Linked DNA regions of Homo sapiens: region 2 is linked to region 1. The links are contacts of gene promoters, found by promoter capture Hi-C in blood cells and fetal thymus (Javierre and others, 2016). All regions are on one chromosome and are shown on one strand. The core of a region is centred on a gene start or on the middle of the fragment in contact, and the rest is flanking DNA. Distances in the headings are between cores, read along the strand shown.

Region 1 (7,792 bases), core at 5,091-7,590:
GGTGGTGCCCAACATGGTCCCCTTTGGAACTGAAATTAAATTGGTGGGGCCTAGATGGTGCTGGAGACAGAGTCCTGGCCTGGGTGGAAGAAAATCTGTCCTCTGTAATGTTGTTTGGTTTGGGTCAAATCACTCTCTCCTCTCTGACCTTGAGTGTTTCCATCTGCAAAATGAGAAAGTTCGACTGTTTGAATGTTAAAGGCCCTTCTGTTTCTCAGGTTTTGTCCTCTTTCCCAGAGCTTTCTTCCCCTTAGGGTCTCCCAAGGAGCCAGAAGATTGCTCCTTGAGCAGAGAAAAGGGTTGGGAGGGAAAGTGCGGTGGAGGAGTAAAGGGCATTGATTAAACTGTCTCAGAGCCCTCCTATGTACCCTTTCCTGTCCTTCCCCATGGAGCCCTTAGAACCCCTGACAGTGAGACAGAGGAAAAACCTCTCCTGTGCCTTCCCTTTGCACAAGTCCATGGAACGGCCTCTGCATCAAGGAAAGGAAGGAGCTGGAGAAAACAAAAGGTAAAAGCTTTCCCAGAGGAAGGTGTTGTTGAGTTTGAGTCCCAGCTGGGAGCAGCCCCCAGCTCAGGACACTGCTGCTATTGTCTGACAGTTCCAGGACTGGCTGGGTGCCCAAGATGCTTTGATTTTTCTTCTCTTTGCCCTGTTTGTCTGCCAGAAGGCAGGGACAGTTTTTGTTTTCTTTTGGTAGCAGCTACAGAGGGGCTGAGTATGTCTGAAACATAGTGAGCAACTGAATGTCCACTGGCCGGCCACCTCTCCATGGACAGAAATCAGAAAAGCAAGGCAGGCAGAAGAGTTAATAGGGTCTGCCCTGCCTCTCCCAGTGATGCTCAATGAGGGAAGTGGAGGAAGAGGAGAAAGGGGACCTCGAATGCCGAATCAGGGAGGACCCTGGGGATGTGCTGAGGAACAGGGTTCCGGGAGCTTGCCGGGTCAGACAAAACTTGACAGCTGCTACTCCAGGAATCCATCCCCCAGTTACAATTCATCCTTGCCTGCTGGCAAGAGTTCCTTGAGCCGAGAAGACTGCCACTACCCAGGATGATTGCATCAGGGGCCTTCTGCCATGGATAAATGGGGAGCTGCTGCATTGGTTCTTAGCCTCTCTCCTTTCCCCATACTTGAAGTGAGGGCCCATAAGCTCCTGTGAGCCTATAAGACTGCCAAGATTGCCCTCCAAGCTGTTCCCCAAGGCCAAAGGTCGAACTTCTTCCCAGTTCTTCACTACTTTACTATTACCATCCCACTTCCATACTCAGTGGAGAGAGGGAAATTGTGTTTAGCTGTAGCCCCAACAGGAATCTAGGGCCTGCATGGCCTAGTTGAGAAGTTGTTTCTATTTCCAGAGAATTGCAGGGGATACACTTTCTTTATCCACAGCTATCCCTACTCCTAAGGAGGTACATAAACCAGGCCTTTGTATGCAGCTTTCTAAATAGTTAAATGTGTCTGAGGAAGGGGGAGGCCCATGGAAAGGACCACCCAGACAGAAAGTCTAGAAAGCTCTGCTCTAATGAAGCTGACCCAGAGGGAGAGAGACTGGGCAGGAGAACACATTCTACTGGAAGCCAGTATGACCTGTCCTTGGCCTGAGCCATCTGCCACTACCCAGGATGATTGCATCGGGGCCTTTCTGCCATGGATAAATAGAGAGAGGCTGCATTTGTTCTTAGCCTGTCTCCTTCCCCCACACTTAAAGTGAAGGACCATTCCCTAATCTCTGGCTGCAGCCCTGGCACCAAATACTTGATAGGTACGCCAGGCGCGGTGGCTCACGCCTGTAATCCCTGCACTTTGGGAGGCCAAGGTGGGTGGATCACCTGAGGTCAGGAGTTCAAGACCAGCCTGGCCACCATGATGAAACCCCATCCCTACTAAAAATACAAAAAGTTAGCCCGACGTGGTGGCGGGCGCCTGTAATCCCAGCTATTCAGGAGGCTGAGGCAGGAGAATCGCTTGAACCCAGGAGGTGAAGGTTATAGTTAGCCAAGATGGCACCACTGCACTCCAGCCTGAGCAACAAGAGCAAAACTCCATCTCAAACAAACAAATACTTGATAGGTGCTATTGGCCTCAACCTGCCCACAGGGAAGGAGCATACATACCCAGGCTTGGCCCCTAAATATAACAGGTGGTGATGGGGCTGCCCAGGACCCCCACTTCCCTCCTCCACATCTCAGGGTCATTGACTCTGCTTGGCCTAGATAACAGAAGCAGCCAAAAGCTGGCGAGTGAGAAGCCTAGAGGAATGCCAGAGAAAGCAAGCCTGCCTTGCCTCCACCATGAATTAACTCCCACATGAACCCACCCCTGAAGCCAGACTGGTCACTTTACCCAGCACTGTGTGTATGTGAGTGTGGGCTGCCTCACTTTTCCTGGCACTGTTCCTCAGCCATATGTATTATCTCATTTAATCCTTATGTTAATGTCAGAGATTATGTGACTTCCCTGAGATCTCACAACCAGCAAATGAAAGATCCAGACCATGAGCCATTCCTTTTCCTTTTAGATTCTGTCATCCTCCCACCTCTCCCATCCAGTTCCTTTCACTTCTGGAAACATCCCTGAGTACCCCCAACTCAGTGGTTTCCCCTGTGGTCTCTGTGCTCCCCCTCAGGCTATGAACTTCTAAAAAGCAGGTACCCTGCAACACCAGAACCCAGCAAAGGAATGGACACATAAGAGATCCCAAGGCTGGGCGCGGTGGCTCATGCCTGTAATCCCAGCACTTTGGGAGGCCGAGGCGGGTGGATTGCCTGAGCTCAGAGTTCAAGACCAGCCTGGGCAAAACGGTGAAACTCTGTCTCTACTAAAATACAAAAAAATTAGCCAGGCGTGGTGTCACGCGCCTGTGGTCCCAGCTACTCGGGAGGCTGAGATGGGAGGATCACTTGAGCCTGGGCAGTAGAGGCTGCAGTGCACCAAGATCATGCCACTGCACTGCAGCCTGGGTGACAGAATGAGACCCTGTCTCATTGAAAAAATTTAAAAAAAGGAGATCCCAAGACGTTTGTTTCATGAGTCAGTAATGAGATTTAATTAGATTGCTTTTATCCTGTTATTTGGAGAATATCTCTAGTTTAGGCCCAAAACACGTACCCAGGACCAGTGGAAATGACAGTGAAACAAGCTGTTCTATCATAAAGGAGGCTGCTTGCAGAAAGAGAAGAGAAGCCTCTTTATCCCTTCCTATTCCTGGGGTCTATGGCTTTGGCTCTGGCTGAGCTTAGCTGGGCTCAGGAAACCATTTTGTTTGGGAGAAGACAGGTCATTTTGTAGCTTGGAGCAGCCAGACAGCACTAGGCCCTAGGTTGGAAAGGCTGGAAACTGTAGACCCATTTCTTCCATCCTAGTCTTTGAACTATAAGGCAAGAGGTTTCCTTAATAGACAGACTTGGCCTTGGAAGCATCCATAGAAATGGTGGACTTTGTCACAATTGTTAGCAGTGATGGGCCTATGATGAAAGCAGAGTCCCAAGGCCCAAGTGGTTACAAATCTATTTATCCATGGACCTTATGTCTTGCAGAGTCTGGTAAAAAGGAAGGAGATTAAGACTTACTTAAAGCATAGCATCGGGAGTTGTACTCCTGATGACAACCAGTGCTGAGTCCAGGCCACTCCCTGTCTTCAGCTATTGCCCCAAGAGCAAACTAGGGGCCCATACAGACTTAAGTTAGAGGCTGTTTCTATTTCAGAGACTTGCTAGGGGTACAGTTCTTTTTAACCTTAAATTTTTTATGTTATCATTATTATTGTTTTTTGAGGCAGGGTCTCACTTTGTCGCCCAGGCTGGAGTGCAATGGCACAATCACAGCTCGCTGCAGCCTCTATCAACTCTCCTGCCTCAGCCTCCCAAGTAGCTGGGACTACAGGTGTGCGCCACCACACCCAGCTAATTTTTTATTTTTTGTAGAGATGGGGTCTCACTATGTTGCCAGGGCTTGAACTCCTGGCCTCAAGCAATCCTCCCGCCTCAGCTTCCCAAAGGGCTGGGATTACAAGCATGAGCTACCATGCCACTTTATGCTCAGCAGGACACACTCTATAACAGGGAGAAGAAAGTGCTATTCAGGTAGGCTGCTTTTCATGTGCAGTTACTGTTTGGCCAACAGCATCATACATATATTAGTTCCTCCATAGGCATTTTTCTGGGTGAATGGACAAATGGAAATGGCAAACCTGTTAGGTGTTCACCCCTTCAACCTAAATGTTCCTCTTCCCCAGGACTGAGGCTCTAGAGATGATGTTAATTTGCACAAGCTTTCAAAAAATCAGTTGAGCAGTGTGTATCAAGAGCCATAAAAATGTTCATACTCTTTGACCCAAACAACCCACTTCTGGGAATCTGTCCTAAGGATATTCTCCAAATGATTGATTACAAAAACTACATAGTAACATGAAATATTTATGATGGAATGATTTTTTTTAAGTCTGGAAGAACTGACCAAGAAATTTGCCAGAGATAATAGTAGTTGTGTTAGAAAAATTAGCTTATTGTAGATTCATTTTCTCTTTCTCAAACTTTACATATTGGAATATTGATTTTACCCTACTCTGCCACTTGAGGTTTATCAATCAGGAACCCAATAGAAACAGCACACTCAGATAGGATAGTTGAAAGTTTAATAGAGGGACTATTGCCTCTATTCTTCCCAATTTCCAATCCTTTACACCCTGAATTCTGCAACTCTTAGTGACTCACTCAACAATTATTAAGCACCTATTTATTGTCTGGTGAAGAAGGCAGACTTTCAAGTACATAAGTTTTTGTGTCATAAATGCAATTATACATATATAAATTGAGTTGTTATGCAGAGCACAAAGAAGCAATTATCTGCCAGGAGAGAGACATGAATCAAGGAAGGTTTCAAAGAGGGGGTAGGCTGGGTACAGTGGCTCACGCCTATAATTCCAGCACTTTGGAAGGCCCAGGTGGGCAGATGACCTGAGCCCAGGAGTTTGAGACCAACCTGGGCAACATGGCAAAACCCTGTCTATACAAAATTACAAAAATTAGCTAGGTGTGGTGGTGCACACCTGTAGTCCCAGCCATTTGGGAGGTCGAGGTGGGAGGATCCCTTGAGACTGGGAGCTCAAGGCTGCAGTGTGCTGTGAAGGCACCACTGCACTCCAACCTGGGCAACAGAGGGAGATCCTGCCTCAAAAAAAAAAAAAAAAAGGTGGGTTTTGGGGGTGATTCAAGTTCAGTTTTTGAAGATTATCTGCCAAGACAAAAGGACCAAAACATGTACAAAGGCAGGAACGAGGGAACACTGATGTGAGGGAACTATGGGAGAGAAGGCTTTAGCTAGATCACACAGGGCCCTGTGCTCCAAGTGGGCCTTGTGCTTTGGAGCTATCAGATTTGCATGTTAGAGAAATGACTCTGGTCTCAGTGGAGAGAGTGGACTGAAGAGGGCAAGAATGGAAGCCGGGAAGAGTGAACAGAAGAAATCTTGGGCTTTGATTGGGTCGGAAAGAAAGTGTGGCCCTACCCACTTTGATGCCATCTCTAAGACCTACTGCTACCTGACCCCCGACCTCTGGAAGGAGACTGTATTCACCAAGTCTCCCTATCAGGAATTCACTGACCACCTCGTCAAGACCCACACCAGAGTCTCCGCGCAGAGGATCCAGGCTCCAGCTGTGGCTACAACATAGGGTTTTTATACAAGAAAAATAAAGTGAATTAAGCCTGAAAAAAAAAAAAAAGAAAAGAAAAAGAAATTGTGGCCCTAGGCCGGGCGCGGTGGCTCACGCTTGTCATCCCAACACTTTGGGAGGCTGAGGCGGGCGGATATCCTGAGCTCGGGAGTCTGAGACCAACCGGGGCAACATGGCGAAACCCGTTCTCTACCAAAAATACAAAAAGCCGGGCGTGGTGGTGCATGCCTGTGATCCCAGCTACTCGGGAGGCTGAGGTGGGAGGATGGCTTGAGCCTGGAAGGCGGAGCCTGCAAGCCGAGATGGAGCCACTGCACTCCAGCCTGGGTGACAGAGTGAGACCCCGTCTTAAAAAAAAAAAAAAAAGTGTATCCCTAACAGAGCCCGCAAAGGCCCTTTCTCAGCGTAAGCCTCTGGACTTACACTTGGCCGGCGCTGCGCCTCTCCGGGATCCCCCTCCCTCCTCCTCCCTGGGGCCCCGCGGGCGGGAGGGAGGCGCGGGGTGGCCCAGCCTGGGTGGTCTCCCGCCCCGCCCCCTGCGGCGCCGTTACCTAGCAGCGGGCCGGGCCGCGCGGCTAGGGTAATTTGCGGGCCCCTCAGCCAATGGGAGGGCGTCGCCCCGGCCAGCTCCCTTTTCTGGAGCTCCAGCCGCCTCCCGGGGACTGCAGTTGCCACCTCGAGCCCTGCTGTGCGTCTCGGGCCAGCAATTCCGCCTGCGCGCGGGACCCATTCCTCCTCCAGCCGCCGCGGCCCACGGCCCACGGAGCGGGTGAATCCCGGCGCCGCGCCCCGGACCCGCAGCTCCCTGCACTCCTCCCTCCCAGCCGCTTTAACACCCACACCCCACAGTCTCTCCCACGCCCGCGCCTTGGCGGCCCCACTGAATCCCTACGCGGGGCCCAGCGGTACCGGGAGACCGGGCTAGCCTATGGGAGCGCCCAGATAACGCGGGTTGGGGGCGCCCGCGCCCCCCATCCCCGCCAGCATGACTCGATCGCCGCCCCTCAGAGAGCTGCCCCCGAGTTACACACCCCCAGCTCGAACCGCAGCACCCCAGGTGAGTAGAGGGGGAGCTGGAAGAAGGAAGAGAGCGGAGCCAGGTCTGTCACTCGGGCCTCTGCAAGGTTTGTGATGTCTTGAAGTGCCGAGTGTCATTAGATGTCTGAAGGCAAGTGAGAGCCAGCACCGCAAGCAAGTTGTGCGTGTGTGTCGGTGTGTCTGTGCCGGTGTCTCCTCATCGTCTGGCCAGTGAGAATGAATGTCTGTGGGTTCACCTCTGTGTCCACCCGACGACAGGTGTGTGTACATATGTATCCTGCTCTCAGAAAATGGGCCTATGCCGGCCGGGCGCGGTGACTCACGCCTGTAATCCCAACACTGGGAGGCTGAGGCAGGCAGATTACCTGAGGTCAGGAGTTCGAGACCAGCCAGGCCAACATGGGGAAACTCTGTCTCTACTAAAAATAAAAAATTAGCAGGGCGTGGTGGCGGGCGCCTGTAGTCCCAACTACTCGGGAGGCTGAGGCAGGAGAATCTCTTGAACCTGGGAGGCGGAGGTTGCAGTCAGCCGAGATCACACCACTGCACTCCAGCCAGGGCAACAGAGCGAGACTGCGTCTCAAAAAAAAAAAAAAAAAAAAAAAGGAGAGAAAACAAAAAGAAAAGAAAGGAAAATAGGCCTATGCCTTCCTCAGGTGTGTGCTGGGGATGGTGGGTGTTACATCTTCCAAGTCTGGGCCTGTGTCTGTGTTGGTGCTCCCTGTCCCACATCCAGAAATCAAGAAGCGAGGGCTGGGCAGCAGATATACAGGGTGAGAAGGGAAGGATTTCATGCATTGTTGCAGTGATGCCTGGCTGACCCTTCTCTTTCCATCCCAGATCCTAGCTGGGAGCCTGAAGGCTCCACTCTGGCTTCGTGCTTACTTCCAGGGCCTGCTCTTCTCTCTGGGATGCGGGATCCAGAGACATTGTGGCAAAGTGCTCTTTCTGGGACTGTTGGCCTTTGGGGCCCTGGCATTAGGTCTCCGCATGGCCATTATTGAGACAAACTTGGAACAGCTCTGGGTAGAAGGTAAGTTGTGGACACTGGCCATAGCTGCTCAGGTATGGTGAGCCCA
Region 2 (7,792 bases), core at 1,715-4,214, 430 kb before region 1:
GCTTGGAATATCTTTTCCATCCTTTCACTTTCCATTTGTGTGTGTCTTTGGATCCAAAGTGAGTTTCTTGTAGACAGCATATAGTTGAATCATGTGGTTTTTAATTGTTTTATTTTGTTTTAGAAACAGAGTCTTGCTCTGTCACTCAGGCTGGAGAGCAGTGGCATGATCATAGCTCACTGTAACCTCAAACTCCTGGGCTCAAGTGATCTTCTTGCCTCAGCCTTCCAAGTCATTGGGATTACAAGCATGAGCCACCATACCTGGCCTGCTTTTCTGTATATTCTATGACTTTTTTCTTACCATGGGGATTATATTTAACATCTTAATGTAATAACACTCTAATTTGATTTTGCACTAGCTTAGCCTCAATAACACACAAAAACTCTGCTCCTTTACAGCTTTTCCCCCACTCTTTTCAGTTACTGATTCCACAAAATTACATCTTTATATCCTTATGCCCCAAAACATAATCATTTTTAAATGCATTTATCTGTTAAATTATGTAGAAAACAAAATGTAGAGTTACAAACCAAAACTACAATAATACTAGCCTTTAGACTAATTATTATTATTATTTTTTAAGACGGAGTCTTGCTCGGTTGCCTAGGCTGGAGTTCAATGCTGTGATCTCTGCTCACTGCAACCTCCACCTCCCAAGTTCAAGTGATTCTCCTGCCTCAGCCTCCCAAGTAGCTGGAACTACAGGCACATGCTACCATGCCTGGCTAATTTTTTTTTAGTAGAGACAGGTTTTCACTATATTGGCCAGGCTGGTCTTGAACTCCTGACCTCAAGTGATCCACCCACCTTGGCCTCCCAAAGTGCTGGGATTACAGGCATGAGCCACCATGCCTGGCCTGGACTAATTGTTTTTTAATGTATTAGTTTCTTAAATTGTGTAGGAAACAAAAAGTTTTGGCCAGGTGCAGTCACTTACACCGGTAATCCCAGTACTTTGGGAGGCCAAGGTGGGAGAATTGCTTGAGTCCAGGAGTTTGAGACCAGCCTGGGCAACACAGTGATACCTTATCTCTACTAAAAAATAAAAAATAAAAATTAGGTGGGTATGATGGCACATACCTGTAGTCTCAGCTACTTGAAAGGCTGAGATAGGAGATTGACTTGAACCTAGGAGGTCAAGACTGCAGTGAGCTGTGATCACACTACTGTACTCCAGCCTGGACAACAGAGAGAAACCTCATCTTTAATTTAAAAAATAAAGAAAACAAAAAGTGGAGTTATGAACTATTGTTACAATAATACTAGCTTGTTATAATTGCCTACATATTTACTTTTAATGAAGTATTTATTTCTTCATATACCTTCAAGTTATTGTCTAGTGTTTCTTCATTTCACCTTGCAGGACTCCCTTAAGCATTTCTGGCAAGGCTGGTCTAGTGGTAATTAACTCCCTCAGCTTTTGTTCATCTAGGAATATCTTAATTTCTCCCTCACTTTTGAAGGACAGTTTGTTTGTTTGTTTGTTTTGAGACGTAGTTTTGCTCTTTTGCCCAGGCTGGAGTGAAGGGGCATGATCTCAGCTTGCTGTAACCTCTGCCCCCCAGGTTCAAGCAATTCTCCTGTCTCAGCCTCCCAAGTAGCTGGGATTATAGGCACCCGCTACTACAGCCAGCTAATTTTTGTATTTTTAGTAGAGATGGGGTTTCACCGTATTGGCTAGGCTGGTCTCGAACTCCTGACCTCAGGTGATCTGCCCACCTCAGCCTCCCAAAGTGTTAAGATTACAGGCATGAGCCACCATGCTTGGCTGAAGGACAGTTTTGACAGATATAGAATTATTGGTGTACAGTTCTTTTCTTTTAGCACCTTGAATATATCAGTCCACTGCCTTCTGGCCTCTGAAGTTTCTAATGAAATATGTGCTGATAACCTTATTGAGGATCCCCTGTGATGAGCTGTTTCTTGCTGTTTCAGGATTCTCATTTTGTATTTGGCTGTTGAAATTTTGATTATAATGTCTCAGTGTGGGTCTCCTTGAATGCATCTTACTAGGATATCATTGAGCTTCTTGGATGTTTACATTCATGTCTTTAATCAAATTTGGGATGTTTTTTGTCATTGTTTATTCAAATATTCTCTCCTTCTCCCTTTCTCTCTCTTCTTCTTCTGAGAATCCCACAATATGTATGCTGGTCAGCTTCATGGTGTCCCAGAGTTCCCTTAGGCTTTGTTCACTTTCCTTCAACTTTTCTTTTTTTTTCTGTTTTCCAGACTCACTAATTTTCATTGTCCCACCTTCAGTTCACTGACTCTTCTGCCTGCTTAAATCTGCCTTTGAATTCCTCTAATGAATTTTTCATTTCAGTTATTGCACTTTTAAGCTTCATAATTTACTTTTTGTAGATTAAAAAAAATCTATTTATATTACTATTTTGTTCATACATTGTTTTATTGGCTTTCTCCACATCTTCCTTTAGTTCTTTGAACATATTTAAAACTGTTGTTTTAAAGTCTTTCTTGCCAGCACAGTGGCTCATACTTGTAATTCGAGCTACTCAGGAGGCTGAAGAGGGAGAATCACTTGAGCCCAGGAGTTCAAGGCTGTAGCGCACTGTGATCACACCTGTGAAGATCCACTACAGGTGGGGTGCGGTGGATCATGCCTATAATCCTAGCACCTTGGGAGCTGAGGCAGGAGGATCACTTGAGGCCAGGAGTTTGAGACCAGCCTGGACAACATAGCAACACTCTGTCTCCGCAATAAAAATAAAAATAAAAAAATAAGGGCCACTGCACTGTGGTCTGGGTGACAGACAATGAGACCCTATCTCTAATAAAATAAAATAAAGTCTTTCTCTAGTACATCACCCATTAAGTCTTTTTCGGGGACAGTTTCTGTTGATTTATTTTTTCCTTTGGGCCATATTTTCCTGGCTTTTAAAAAATGTTTTGTGATTTTATTGTTGAAAACTGGACATTTGCATCTAATGTGGAAACTCTGGAAATCAGATTCTCCTCAGGGTTTGCTGGCATTTGTGATTGTTTTTGTTTATTTATTTATTTTTTAAATTTTATATGCAGTGTTTGTGCCAAAGATCAGCCTGAGATGAAAACTTAAGGTCTTCTCAGGTCTTTTCTGAAACTGCACCTTTTCCTAGGCATGTATACTTTTAAATTTTAATTTATATATTTTAACATACAAAAACCACTTTATATGCAATTGTTTTTTAATGTCCTAGTCTTCAGTGTCTGGCTCCCAAAAGGGGAAAAAATGAAAGAGAGAAGAAAAGGATCCTGGGCCTTTAAATCCCCAGGAAGTCACTTCAACTATAGAGGAGGGACTTGTGGCAATGGAGGGAGGTGCAACAACAATGGCCCTTTGACTCTCTGCACTTCTGTTACCAGAAGCAGTAATCAGCAATCAGAGCACAGATCCCTGATATTTGGAGAACAGAGCCATCCTGGCTCCCACAAGCTATGTGCAGGTTGCTCCAGGAACACATCATATCATTCTCCTTGTTGGTGGGAGATGGGTAGCTGCTCCTGTGGTAACAGTTGAAATTTACTGAAATTAACTACAATTTATCACCAAGTCTTCCCCTGGAAGTTGCAAGCTTTCAATAGACTCTGGATTTCCAAAACTGTTACATCAGACAGAATCTGACAGTGCAATTGTTGTCTAGGTGGGGAGATATATTCTTGGTTCTTCCTACTCTGCCAACTGCCCAGAATCATCTCCAGATTTTTGTTTAGATAGAAGTGCAGGTTCCACTCTAAGAAAACCTTGGGGATGTAGGTATCTGAGGGAGTTTGTAGGTCTTAGAGTGGAAGTTCAAGAAGATACAGAAGAATGATTGGGGACCAAAACAAAGAAGGAGGCTGGGTCAGTTGAGAGGATGTATAGAACAGGTAGAGAGTTACAAGGAGAGTTAGAAAGGTAAGGTGACACCTTTGGGTGGAATTTATCTTAAGCATTCCTTGGTGAAAGAGGTACACACAGGCCAGGTGTGGCTGAGAGTCTTCCTGTAGTGATTTGGTAACAACAGGGTACTGGACTCCTGCAGCTTCATATGTGGGTGCAATATAAAAAGAGGGGGTTAGGTGGCCCAGAGCATCTGTCCCAGGGTCACATGGTCACTCAGACCCAGGGCCCAGTTTGTGGGGGGTCCCTGCCTCCCTCTCCAGTCTTCATTGCACTCTGCTGCAGACCCAATAGCCTCCTTTTAGACCCTCCATCATGCCACGTTCTTCCCTACCATAGGAGGCACATGCTCTCTGCCTGGGATGCCCTTAGTCTTCCTTCGGATCTTGACTAAAACATCACTTCTTTGGATATACCCTAGATCCCCCACCATTCTCTCTCATCACATTGTGTATCATTCCTTCAAGAACTTATCACAGTTGTAATTTTACATTTATTTGTGTGTTCATTTGATTAAAGCCTCTCTCCTCTTTCTTGTCTGTAAGTTTCAGAGGGACCATGCCTGTTTTATATACCGGGTCTCCCAGCATTTATCCCAGTACTTACACAAAATAGTTGTGGTAGTTAAAAAATGTCCACAGGCCAGGCACAGTGGCCCACGCTTGTAATCCCAGCACTTTGGGAGGCCAAGGCAGGAGGATTGCTTGAGCCCAGGAGTTCAAGACCAGCTTAGGCAACATAGCAAGACCCTCATCTTTACCAAAAATACAAAAATTAGCCAGGTATGGTGGTACATGCTTGTAGTCCCAGCTACCCAAAAGGCTGAGTTAGGAGAATCACTTGAGCCCAGGAAGTTGAGGCAGCAGTGAGCCTCATGACACACGCTACCATGCCTGGCTAATTTTTGTATTGTGCCATACTGCACTCCAGCCCAGGCAACAGACTGAGACCCTGTCTCAAAAAAAAAAAAAAAAAAAAAGTCTACAAATGTTTTAACACTTTTTTTTTTTTTTTGAGACAGAGTCTTACACTGTCTCCCAGGGTTGGAGTGCAATGGTGCCATCTCGGCTCACTGTAGCCTCTGCCTCCTGAGTTCAGGCAATTCTCCTTTTCTCAGCTTCCCAAGTAGCTGGGATTACAGGTGCCTGCCACCATGTCTGGCTAATTGTTTTTTGTTTTTGTTTTTGTTTTTTGTATTTTTAGTAGAGATGAGGTTTCACTATGTTGGCCAGGCTGGTCTTGAACTCCTGACCTCATTATCCATCCGCCTCAGCCTCCTAAAGTGCTAAGATTACAGGCGTGAGCCACCCACCGTGCCTGGCCCAACACTTTTTTTCAAAGGCAGATGTCTATTTTTCCTCCTCGTGAATGTAAGGCCAGACTTAGTGACTTCCTTCTAACAAATAGACTGTGGTGGAAGTGACTGTGTGTGACTTCTGAGGCTGGGTTAAAGAAGATACAGCTTCCTCCCTGCATTTTTCTCACTCTTGGATCACTCATTCAGGGGAAGCCATACCATGCTGTGAGGTCACTGAGGAAAACCAGAACGCCCCTGTGGTATTCTGTCATAGCAACGCAAAATGGATTAAGACAATGACAAACCAAAAGAAAACAAACAAAAAATTGTTCATAAATATGCTAATTCATTCATTCAGCATTCATTGCAAAACTATTTTATTATTAGTCATCTATTGCTACATAACAAATTTCCCCAGAACTTAGAGGCTTAAAACAACAATAATCATTTATTCTTTCTCATAAGATATAACTTGGTATGGTGGCTCTCGCTAAGAATTAGCTAGATTCTGTGGGAGGCCTCAATTCCTCTCTAGTTGATACCTGGAGAGGAATTGAGGCCTCCCACAAACAGCCAGCAACCACTTGCTAGTGATGGGAGAAAGCTACCTTGAAAGTGGATTCTCCAGCCCCAGTCAAGCTTTCAGATAGCTGCAGTTCTGGTTGACATCTGAACTGTAACCTCACAAGGGATTCTCAGCCAGAACCACCACACCAAGTTATATCCTGTGAGAGATAATAAATGATTGTTGTTGTCTTAAGTCTCTAAGTTCTGGGATAATTTGTTATGTAGCAATGGATAACTAACCATAAAATATTTTGCAATTAATACTGAATGAACAAATCAGCATATTCATGAACAATTTTTTGTTTTCTTTTGGTTGGCATTACCTTCATGCATTTTGTGTTGTTATCCCAGAATACCACAGACTGGGTTATTTTATTTTATTTTATTTTATTTTATTTTATTTTATTTTATTTATTTTATTTTATTTTATTTTATTTGAGACAGAGTCTCACTCTGTTGCCCAGGCTGGAATACAGTGGCATGATCACAGCTCACTGCAGCCTCAACCTCCTGGGCTCAAGTGATCCTCCCACCTGAGCCTCCCGAGTAGCTGGATCCACAGGTGCATGCCACCATACCTGGCTGATTTTTGTATTTTTTGTAGAGATGGAATTTTGCCATGTTGCCCAGGCTGGTCTTAAACTCTTGGGTTCAAGCAATCTGCCAGCCTCAGCCTCCCAAAGTGCTGGGATTACAGGTGTGAGATACCATGCCCAGCCCAGACTGGGTAATTTTAAAAGAACAGAAATTTATTTCTTAAAGTTCTGGAGGCTGTGAAGTCCAACATTGAGGGTCTGCCTCTGGTGAGGGCCTTTTTGCTGCATCATCTCATGGTGAAAAGTGGAAAGGCAAGAGAGGGCGTGTGAGAGCAAGAGAACAAGAAGTGGCCAAACTCGCTTTTATAGCAACCCACTATCATGATAACTAACCTACTCCTGTGATAATGACATTAATCCATTGACGACAGCAGAGCTCTCAGAAACTAATCACCTCTTATCAGGCCCCACTTCCCAAGACTGTTGCCTTAAATTTTTTTTTTTGAGACAGAGTTTCACTCTTGTTGCCCAGGCTGGAGTGCAGTGGCACGATCTCAGCTCACTGCAAACTCTGCCTCCTGGGTTCAAGCAATTCTCCTGTCTCAGCCTCCCAATTAGCGGGGATTACAGGTGTATGCCACCATTCCTGGCTAATTTTTGAATTTTTAGTGGAGACAGGGTTTCATCATATTGGTCAGGCCGATTTCAAACTCCTGACCTCAGGTGATCCTCCCGCCTTGGCCTCCCAAAGTGCTGGGATTACAAGCATGAGCCACCGTGCCTGGCCTTAAAGATTAATTTTATAACACATGAACTTTGGGGGACACATTGAAACCATAGCAGGAATAAATCAGGAATTACATTAGTAATAATTCCAACAGGTGCCTGAAATTTTCTTTTACATTTTCTCTGTACTTTATGGACTTTCTCAACCATACAAATTGGAGTAAAAACACAAACAAGATAGCACAAATATCTAATCCTAGAAAGACTGTGTTGGTTGAGTGATTTCAATATGAGGAAAGATTAATTATACATGTACTTCCACTATCCACCGCCAAAGATTAGTTGGCATACAAGGCACAACGCTTATGGATCATGAAATCATGATGAAATTTTGGTCAAGAAAGGTTTTTTTTTTTTAAAAAAAAATCTTAAATGTAGATTTTTACCCAATCTTTAAGGCAGTAGTTGATTTACATTTTATTACATGCTTTAACCAAAAGTTTGTACTTTTTGGGTTAAAAAAGCCAAATATTTAAGGGTAATCAACCACTGCAACTGCTTTGTCTTTGTCTCTGTCAACAGTACCCTCTGAATCCTTTCAGTTTCATAGAGGATAAAGAGAATTTTCACAAGGAATCTTAATGTATTAGTCTGTTTTTATGCTGCTGATAAAGACATAAGGCTGAGAGGAAAAAGAGGTTTAATCGGACTTATAGTTCCACATGGCTGGGGAGGCCTCAGAATCATGGTGGGAGGTGAAAGGCACTTCTTTACACAGTG

What was found. The method cuts DNA at HindIII sites, captures the fragments that hold promoters and counts their contacts. A CHiCAGO score of 5 or more calls a contact.
Region 2: a contact is called between a fragment that was not itself captured here and the fragment with the promoter of PTCH2 in region 1, in 1 of 17 cell types (erythroblasts). The highest score is 5.5, in erythroblasts.

What each region holds. Positions count from the first base shown.
Region 1 is chr1:44,841,801-44,849,592 of GRCh38, reverse strand. PTCH2 (patched 2) reads left to right here and starts at 6,340. Exons shown (of 22, transcript NM_003738.5): 1 at 6,340-6,732; 2 at 7,554-7,746. The coding sequence starts at 6,661. RefSeq lists a silencer at 6,125-6,394. The HindIII fragment of the contact is 9,661 bases long and covers 4,274-7,792 here.
Region 2 is chr1:45,270,817-45,278,608 of GRCh38, reverse strand. No RefSeq gene overlaps it. Among named protein-coding and RNA genes, the nearest start is that of LINC01144, 29 kb to the left of the region's middle. The HindIII fragment of the contact is 1,233 bases long and covers 2,348-3,580 here.